3 separate regions of the Homo sapiens genome follow, and regions 2 and 3 are each linked to region 1. The links are contacts of gene promoters, found by promoter capture Hi-C in blood cells and fetal thymus (Javierre and others, 2016). All regions are on one chromosome and are shown on one strand. Each heading gives the region's core, a stretch centred on a gene start or on the middle of the fragment in contact. The rest is flanking DNA. Distances are from core to core; before and after follow the strand shown. Region 1 has its middle 28 kb from the start of PABPC4. Region 2 holds the start of NT5C1A (5'-nucleotidase, cytosolic IA). Region 3 holds the start of HPCAL4 (hippocalcin like 4).

The links. The method cuts DNA at HindIII sites, captures the fragments that hold promoters and counts their contacts. A CHiCAGO score of 5 or more calls a contact.
Region 2: a contact is called between the fragment with the promoter of NT5C1A here and a fragment that was not itself captured in region 1, in 3 of 17 cell types (megakaryocytes, M1 macrophages and M2 macrophages). The highest score is 6.2, in megakaryocytes.
Region 3: the fragment with the promoter of HPCAL4 here is called in contact with a fragment that was not itself captured in region 1 in 2 of 17 cell types (endothelial precursors and M1 macrophages); the score reaches 5.9 in endothelial precursors.

Annotation. Positions count from the first base shown.
Region 1 is chr1:39,603,186-39,606,366 of GRCh38, reverse strand. No RefSeq gene overlaps it. Among named protein-coding and RNA genes, the nearest start is that of PABPC4, 28 kb to the right of the region's middle. The HindIII fragment of the contact is 753 bases long and covers 1,555-2,307 here.
Region 2 is chr1:39,670,824-39,673,820 of GRCh38, reverse strand. NT5C1A (5'-nucleotidase, cytosolic IA) reads left to right here and starts at 1,714. Exons shown (of 6, transcript NM_032526.3): 1 at 1,714-1,917. The coding sequence starts at 1,783. RefSeq lists a silencer at 1,522-1,931. The HindIII fragment of the contact is 2,595 bases long and covers 389-2,983 here.
Region 3 is chr1:39,690,175-39,693,207 of GRCh38, reverse strand. HPCAL4 (hippocalcin like 4) reads left to right here and starts at 1,775. Exons shown (of 4, transcript NM_016257.4): 1 at 1,775-1,902. RefSeq lists an enhancer at 806-1,396 and silencers at 1,469-1,698, 1,919-1,998. The HindIII fragment of the contact is 11,293 bases long and covers 1,435-3,033 here.

The DNA.
Region 1 (3,181 bases), core at 682-3,181:
CCTCTAGTGGTCAGTTGGAATAACGGCATAACTGCTATGATAAATACAAACTCCCCAAATGGTGTCGCCCAAAGGCTAGTAGTTTCTACAGATAAAACAGCCCATCGTTTTTTAGTCTCCTGGATGCTGTTAGTCTTCAAGGACTAAGATCAGGGTTTCTCCAAAGGAGCCAGGGAGGATCATCCCATGTAGGCCCTTGTAGGAGAGAATGGCTCCAGGGGAATTACCCTGATGAAAAATACGTCACCCACACTTCCACACCCAAACAAATGAGCAAAGGATAACAGGCTTGTTGGGACTCACAGCTCAGTTGTCCAGACCTTCAAAGAATATATTCTCACTATGTGATTCATTTTATGTGTCAACTTGACTGAGTCATGGACTGCTCGGTTTATTTGGTCAAACATTGTGAGTGTATCTGTGAGGCTGTTTTTGGATGGGATTAACACTTGACTGAATAAAGCAAACTGCATGCCCCCATGTGGGTGGCCCTCATCCAGTCAGACCTGAATAGAACAAAAAGGCCACCCCTCCCTCAAGTAAGAGGCAATGTCTCCTGCCTGACCGTATGAGCTGGGACATGGGTCTTTTCCATTCTATAGATTTGAACTGAAACATTGGCTTTTCTTGGATCTCAAGCCAGTAGACTTTCAGACTGGAACACACATTGGCTCTCCTGGGTCTCCAGCTTGCTAACTGCAGATCTTGGGACTTCTCAACCTTCATAATCACATAAGCCAGTTTCTCATAATAAATAAATGGGTCCTGGCCGGGTGCAGTGGCTCACGCTTGTAATCCCAGCACTTTGGGAGGCCAAGGTGGGCGGATGACAAGGTCACGAGTTCAAGACCAGCCTGGGCAATATGATGAAACCCAGTCTCTACTAAAAATACAAAAATTAGCTGGGCCTGGTGGCAGGCGCCTGTAGTCCCAGCTACTCGGGAGGCTGAGGCAAGAGAATCGCTTGAACCCGGGAGGTGGAGATTGCAGTGAGCCAAGATTGTGCCACTGAACTCCAGCCTGGGCGACAGAGCGAGACTCCATCTCAAAAAAAAAATAAATAAATAAAAATAAGTCCTGTTGGTTCTGTTTCTCTGGAGAGCCCTAATACATTTTTTTTTTTTTCGAGACAGGCTCTTGCTCTGTCACCCAGGCTGGAGTCCAGTGGCGCTATCTCGGCTCACTGCAACCTCCGCCTCCCGGGATCAAGAGAATCTCGTGCCTCAGCTTCCAAAGTAGCTGGGACTAAAAGCATGTGCCATCACACCCAACTAATTTTTGTATTTTTGGTATTGATGGGGTTTCACCACGTTGGCCAGGCTGGTCTCAAATTCCTGACCTCAAATGATCTGCCCGCCTCGGCCTCCCAAAATGCTGGGATTACAGGCGTAAGCCACCACGCCGAGCCCTGACTAATACATTCTGTTTTATACAAACTGTTTTTACTGGGTGGAAAAGAAGGGAAAACTGCCTAACTTGTTTTGTAATACTAGTATGCCCTTGTCATCAGCCCACGACAGGGCAATTAAAGGTAAGAACATTTTAGAACAAGCTTAGTTACGGTTATAGATACAAACATCCTAAATAATAAAACAGAATCCATATGACATCTAAATTAGAAGCAAATATGTAGTAGAGTTTAGCCAAAAATGCAAGGATAGGTTAACAACAGGGAAAGAATTCCTGTTCTGAACCTTAATACATTAAAAGATAAAAAGTATATAATCACTTAAATAAATAATCATTTGATGAATTCATTCATTTTTCAAATCTTAGCAAATTAGGATTAGTAGGATAATACCTTAACCCTATAAAGGATATTTGCCAAATTCCTAAACATCAAATTCAACGGTGAAACTCTAGCATTCCCATAAAAGTTAAAAATATGAATGCCCTTTATTCAAAATTTGATGGGCATTTCTAGCTAATGTAATAAATATAATAGAAATCAGAGGCTTAGGAAGTAGGAAGAGGTAACACCATTCTTATATGCATGATTCATTTTCTATTTGGAAAATAAAAATCTACATGCAGAGCATTAGAATTGATAAGAGTATTTGACAGGTTAGTTGAATACAAGATCATCCCACACATTCTGACAGCACTCTTGTTAATTGCTTATTGGAGTAACAACAAATAAGAACATATTGTGTCCAGAGTCGGTTCCTTCTGGTGGGTTCTTGGTCTCACTGACTTCAAGAATGAAGCTGTGGACCTTCCCGGTGAGTGTTACAGCTCTTAAAGATGGCACGGGCCCAAAGAGTAAGCACCAGCGAGTTTTATTATGAAAAGTGAAAGAACAAAGCTTCCACAGCTTGGAAGGGGACCCAAGCCGGTTGTGGTGGCTGGCTGGGGTGGGGGGGGGTGGCCAGCTTTTATTCCCTTATTTGTCCCCACCCATGTCCTGCTGATGGGTTCATTTTACAGAGCACTGATTGGTCCATTTTACAGTGTGCTGATTGGCGCATTTTACAAACCTCTAGCTAGCCACAGAGCGCTGATTGGTGCATTTTTCAATCCTAGCTACAGAGTGCCAGTTGGTGCATTTTACAATTTTCTTGTAAGACAGAAAAGTTCTCCAAGTCCCCACCCAACCCAGAAGTCCAGGTGGCTTCACCTCTCAATGTGGCTGGGCTTGGAGGCTCACACCTGTAATCCCAACACTTTGGGAGGCTGAGGTGGGTGGATCACCGAGGTCAGGAGTTTGAGACCACCCTGGCCAACATAGAGAAACCCTGTCTCTGCTAAAAATACAAAAATTAGCCAGGTGTGGTGGTGCTTGCCTGTAATCCCAGCTACTCAGGAGGCTGAGGCAGGAGAATCGCCTGAACCCGGGCAGCGGAGGTTGCAGTGAGCCGAGATGGCTCCCCTGCACTCCAGCCTGGGGGACAGAGCAAGACTCCATCTCAAAAAAAAAAAAGCAAAAAAAAGCTGGGTGGGGTGGCTCACGCCTGTAATCCCAGCACTTTGGGAGGCCGAGGTGGGTGGATCACGAGGTCAAGAGATCAAGACCATCTTGGCCAACATGGTGAAACCCCGTTTCTACTAAAAATACAAAAATTAGGTGAGCGTTGTGGCACACACCTGTAGTCCCACCTACTCGGGAGGCTGAGGCAGCAGAATCACTTGTACCTGGAAGGCAGAGGTTGCAGTGAGCCGAGATCACACCACTGCACTCCAG
Region 2 (2,997 bases), core at 465-2,964, 68 kb before region 1:
ATTCCTAGAGTTTCAATTATTTATTGCAGTGTAACAAGCTACCCCAAAACTTGGTGCCTGAAACAACAATTTATTATTTTTGATGATTCTGTGAGTTGGCTGGGCTCAGCTGGAAGGTTTTACTGCTTCAGGTTGTGTTGGCTGGCGTCACCCACATAGCTGCACTCCACTGGGAGCTGAGCTGGGGCTGGGACAGCCAGGATGGCCTCATTCACATGTCTGTCAATTGTGCCTATAGTCACCTGGGCTGTCGCTAGCTTCTTATCCTCCAGGTCCTATCTGTCTCACTACGTGGCCTTTCCAGCAGGATAGTCCAGACTTATTTACATAGTAGCTGGCTCCCAAGAGGGCAAAAATGGAATCTGCAAGGCCTCTTAAGACGTAAGCTTGGAAACCACAGAGCACCACTTCTACTCCATTCAATTGGTCAAAGCAAGTCACAGGGCCAGCTCAGACTGGACTCCACCTCTGAATGGGAGGAATGTCAAAGTCACATTTCCAAAGGACAGGCAGGATGGAAGAGGTTTTTGGGCCATCTCTGGAAACAATCTTCTAGAAGTAAGTCTAAACACACTTCCCCCAATCCTAACATTTTATTATGATTTTTCCCTTCCTCCCACACAAGGGTTGGTTTATTCCTCCCAGGACCTGGTGGAGGCTGAGGGGATCACTCCATTCTGTAGCCCCCTCACCTCCCCAGTCAGAGGCCCTCCTAGCTAAGCCAGTGTTTTCTCCTGCTTCTCCCACCCACCCATGCACACCTCTGAGAGAGGCTGTCTGCTTCCTGGCCTGTACCTTGGGATGGGTGACATTTGTGTCTGCACCCTGAGACTAGTACAGAGCTCTGCATCAAGAGGGACAACACCCTGGAATTCCAGGATGGTAGTTCCGAGGCCCCTCTTCTGCCCTCCCTCTATCCAGCCCCTTCATGGCCTATAACAAATCACCCCAAGCTGGGCAGGTGGGGGCCTAGGAATGCGCGCCCTCTGCTGACCACCAAAGGGCCAGCAAGAATTCGGGTTCAGAGTCCCTGGGAGTCTCTCTGGCCTGGGTCCCCACCCCAGGCCAAGGTCTCGACCTGAGACCACCCGAGCCTGGTCTCAACATGGACTTCAAGGGCCCCTCCTAGGTGGTGTGGAGGAGCTGCCGGGTTGGGCCCTTCACTGAGCTCCCGCTGGGAGCAGGCTTCTGCTAGTGAGAGGAGCCATCCATGCATCACCTCCTGCCCGTCTGCCGGATGGACTGGCCTCGGAGGGAAGGGGACATCGTCAGGATCCCAGGGTCCTAGCTCCTAAAGGAAAGATGGGCAGCTAGCTTTTGGGAGGGGAGCGGCTAGCTTTTCATTTTGTCCTTTGGGGATCACTATCCTGGGGGAAAAAAAAAGTTGTCAGGCCTCTCCTGTCTCCGCGCCCTGCAGCGCCTGCGAAGAACATCATTTTCGCAATCCCCAATCCGCTGCAGCCCACAAACCCAGAGAGCCAGAGAGCCCCCCTCACCACCCAACCGGCTGCTGGCGTGGGTCGGTCGGGGAAGGAGAGCCCAGCTATCCCTCATACCGTACAGCAGTAGCAGCAGCAGCGGCAGCGACACACGGGCGACCGAGAGGGCCAGTGTGACCTCCCCCCGCCCGGCGGGCGGGGAGCCCAGCTCACACGCACAGCCTCCTCGCCGCTGCCCGCCCCCTTCCCTCGCCGGGACTCGCCTCCCTCCTGCAGCCCAGCCCCAGCCACCTCCGCGTCTACGCCGCCGCCTGCTCTGGCCGGGCCGGGTCAGAGCCGGAGCATGGAACCTGGGCAGCCCCGGGAGCCCCAGGAGCCCCGCGAGCCCGGGCCAGGAGCGGAGACCGCTGCGGCCCCGGTCTGGGAGGAAGCCAAGATTTTCTACGACAACCTCGCGCCCAAGAAGAAACCCAAATCGGTAAAAGCAATGCACGGGTATGCGGGGGACGGGGGAAGGGTTACCCCGGAGGAGGGGTCATAAGTCTCTTGGGAAGGGACCCGTGGCGCCCCTCTGGGAGGGGACGCAGCTCCTCAGCCCCAGAATGCGCCCTGCAGCTGGCGCGGGCTCGGGTTTATTTTGGGAGCTCTGCTCTGGTGTATTTTTTTACCGGGACTCGGGTTCCACGCCAGGCTCCCCCTCCCCCATGCTGTCATCAGGGCCCAGCTAGAGGCCCGCAGCCCCAGCCCCTCCCCACTCGGGCCGCCGGGGAGCGCGGATTGCACTTGTTGGCGAAGCTGGTCCGCAGCGCTTCCAGAAGCGCCCCAGGCGCGGGTAACCAGACTTTGGGAACCCGGTTCCTGGCTGTGCGCTCCGGTCTCCGCCATCTGGGCATCGGGCTCCGGACCTGAGACTCTGCGTTTGGGGTCTGGCTCTGGGTCCTGGGCCCTGGGCTGGGGGCAGTGCGCTCCCCGCGTCCTAAGGAAAGGGAGCTGCTCTCTCCAGGCACTGGGATCCACACTCTGCGCTGGGGGGCGATCGGCGCCCCTGGCCGCAGGCTCCCAGCGCTGGACTCTGCCCCCCAGCTCGGGTTCTGCTCCCCTTGCAGTGGGCATTAACATCCCCACGACCCTGTGGTGGTGTCAACCGTCTGGGACCTCACAGAGGAGCTCTCTCCTCTCTGCCATCAAACAAGTTGATGATGCCCTGGTCTGCCCCTGGACCTTGCTGTCTCCAACTTCCCAGATCTCAGAGCTTGAGGAGAAAACCGAGAATAGAGGTTGGCCCACAGCGGTCCTCCAAAGAGCTCCAGCTTGATCTTAAAGCAATTTGCTGCTTCCCTCCAAGAACCCTTCCCCAACAGGTCCACCCTATCAGCAATCATTCAATTAGCACCTCCAAGCTCTGCTCAAGAGTGGGGATTGAAGAATTAAATAACCTGAGTCCCTGCCTCAGGAGCTCACTGCACAATGATGGAGGCTCCAGAGATGAGAGCCTAGGGGAGTTGGGGGGGGAGTAGAGTAGTGACATCACACTGGGGAAAGCTTTGTAGAAGTGGCA
Region 3 (3,033 bases), core at 526-3,025, 87 kb before region 1:
CACATTTCACAGACTGGGAGGCCCAGAATGAGAAGGGTTTTGCCCACGGTCGTAAATGGAATCATTGGCAAAAATGAGACTCAATGTTAGCAATATGAACTTGGGTCAGTCAATGTTAGGGTTTCAGATACCACTTCTAGTAACCTGTGCTGCCTCTCCCCACTTCTTCACGCCTTGGATTATGGTTAACTGTGAGCAAGGGGGGTTCTCGCTCATCTCTGGGTCCCCAAGACCCAGAGCTGAGAAGGTATCAGAGAAGTGAAAGAGTTAGAGCTTCAAACACCTGTCTTTCATGAGTCACCAACCCATAGTGCCAAGGACGCGCCTTCTCCTACAGCTGCAGGTTCCTTGGAGCCCTCAGCCCCCGCTAAGGCCGCAGAGAGAAGGCATAGTCCGCAGCCTCGAAAATGGTAGAGCAAAACCGTTTCAAGGGGCAACGGGACAGGTCCTAAAGAAAAGGGACGTCCACGGGTTCCTCCCCCAGCGAGCCTGGCCCAGGCATTTCTGGGACCAGCTCCAGAAGCCTCGCCCCCACTCGCGGCAGGTCTGACCCCATCCTCCATCGCCCCGCCCAGCCCACCTCTACCTTCGCCGCGCGGACAGAAGCCCCGCCTCTCACCGCTGCTCTTCAGCGTCCGCGCTCCGATTAGGCCAATCCCCAGCCGTCCGCCCCGACTTTCGACAGATCCTTAGAAGTCCCTGCCCCGCACGTGGCCCAGCCCGGGGATGTCTGGCTCCCCTTTTGCCCCCAGTTTGGCTTAAAAGGGTTCCTTCCCACAGCCTTGTGTCAGGAGCTCTCAGACGCCAGTGCAGCCCAGGCGGCCGGCCCGGGCTGTGGGGAGACCCCCAAGTGCGGGGAGGAGGTGTTGCCGGGGCCCTGAAAGCTTCCAGACCCGCTCAGTGTAAACCGCCTCGGGTTTGTGTCAACATCCGAGGCCGGAGACTGGCGGCGGCTGGGGACCGGCTCCGTCTGCGGGACGGGAAAACGGGAGGGTGGGGAATGGAGGATCCATGGCTAGGCATAGGGGTCCTTCGGGGGAGAACGCGAGAGGCCTCTTGGGGGTCCATGAGAAAGGAGGAGGGCCCGTCTGGGGAGGGACCGGAATGAAGGGCCAGAGGGGTGGCTGGAGGGAACCCACGACTAGCGCGGGGCTAGGTAGAGGCTGGGACTTCGCCACCCATACCGCGCTCTCCGCGCGCAACCAGCACCCTCCTCTCTGCCCCACGGCGTGAGGGGAGTGGATGCGTGGGGAGGGGGGACGCAGAGATGTGGACTGCTGACCAGCCACCTCCTCCCTCTCCCACCCAGCTCCTCCCCAGCTCCTCTTTGGCCCCTCCCAATTTCGGGTGGGATATGGGTGTGGGGGGGGGTCTCATCTTGTGACTCATCCCCTCTTCCGCCCCCACCCATGCTGGGGCCCAGGAAAGGAAGCTTAGAGATTCGGCTGTGGTTCTCCCGTTTCCATAGCAACGGTGAGGTTGTTTTTGAGAATCCACTTTCATCGTCGACCCTTTCCACCCCAGACTTGTAAGCCGGGGGCTGAGCCTCAGGGCAGGGGTGCAGATGGGGGTGCAGCCCTCCCGCTTCCCGGCGACTCCGGGAAGGTCAGCGCGGGCAGGCGGGGCGCGCTCCTGCGGCCGGGCCTCGCCGGCCACCCGGTCCCCACCTGAAACCCCGCCTGCCACTCCGCTCCAGAGGAGCCAATAGCCGTGCAACCTGCCCGGGATGGGGCGGGGCTTATGCAAATAGTGTCGCCTTCGGGAGGCACATAGTGATACAAGAGCTGGAAGGCGGCTCCGGCGCAGACCTTGGAGAGCACAGCTGCCGGCCCGCGAGCCAGCCTCGGTTCCCGCGGCCCGCCGAGGCTCGGAGCCATCCAGCGACCCGGCGACCGGCCTCAGGTAATGCGAGTGGGACCGGGTCCTCAAGGCAACAAACCCACCGGGCGGAGGCCCTGGCCCCCTCCCCCTCCACTCTCCCTTCCCATCCTCATGTCCTGCCCTGATTCACCTCCCTGACCCGTGGTTCCGCCTTAGGCGGCAGCAACTGAAGAGCCCACCCCTGGGCAGGAGACCCCCCACCTCAGTCCAGGCCCATGGGTGCAGAGAAGGAGGCAGAGCCGCCTACTTATCCCCAGCTCAGGTGAGAACAACCATTGCTATGGCCCCCAACATACACGCGCGCAAACACACATACACACACAGATGCACACACACACATCTGGGGGTGTGGTGGCGCTGGTGCTAGCTGGAGGCGCTGGTCACCCTCCCTCCTGTTTGGATATGGGTTGTCTGCCCAGCACCATGGCAAACTCCCACCTCCACGGATAGCCCCTAGCCACTTCTCATCAGGGAGCCCCTGCCCCCAAAGACAGCCTCCCCCTCCACAGAGCGCTCCCTCCTTGTTGTCCCCAGACACTGTCCCCACATCCCACCCCTCAAGCTGACAGAGCCCACAGCATACCTGAGGGGGGGACAATCCCCCTTCCCCAGTTTTTCTCCTCACAGTCTCGACAGCCCTCCCCAGTGGCCCCCAGTGCTAGGCAGAGGCCCCATATTTGGCATCTCTCATCCTGGCGGGAGGATGAACCAAAGACACCACCCCCAGCAGACCACCCATACCGTCAGTCCAGTTGCTGCCAAGGCCCCAACCTCCATACCTCCTCCCTCCCCCCTCACAGCCAGGCACCAAATCCTCTCATTCTGCCTGTCAAATGTCTTTCTAATTTGTATGACTATTTGCTCCCTCTCTCCCACCTTCCTGCTGCTCCGTGGGGACCTTGCCAAGGTGCCATGTGGGCTGTATTGCTCTTGGCCCTAAAGTGAACTATACCTGGAGGGCAGATGAGCTGGGTTCAAATCTTGTACAGCCAAAGTTTGACTTTGGCCAAGTCACTCCCCTCTCTGATCCTTCATGAAAATGGGGAGAGGTATAACAGAGAGGGTAGACTGGGTGAGATGAACTTGAACAGCCTTCTGGCACTGAGACACTCTGGTTCTATGGCTGATTATGGAAAAACAGGATCCTGAACC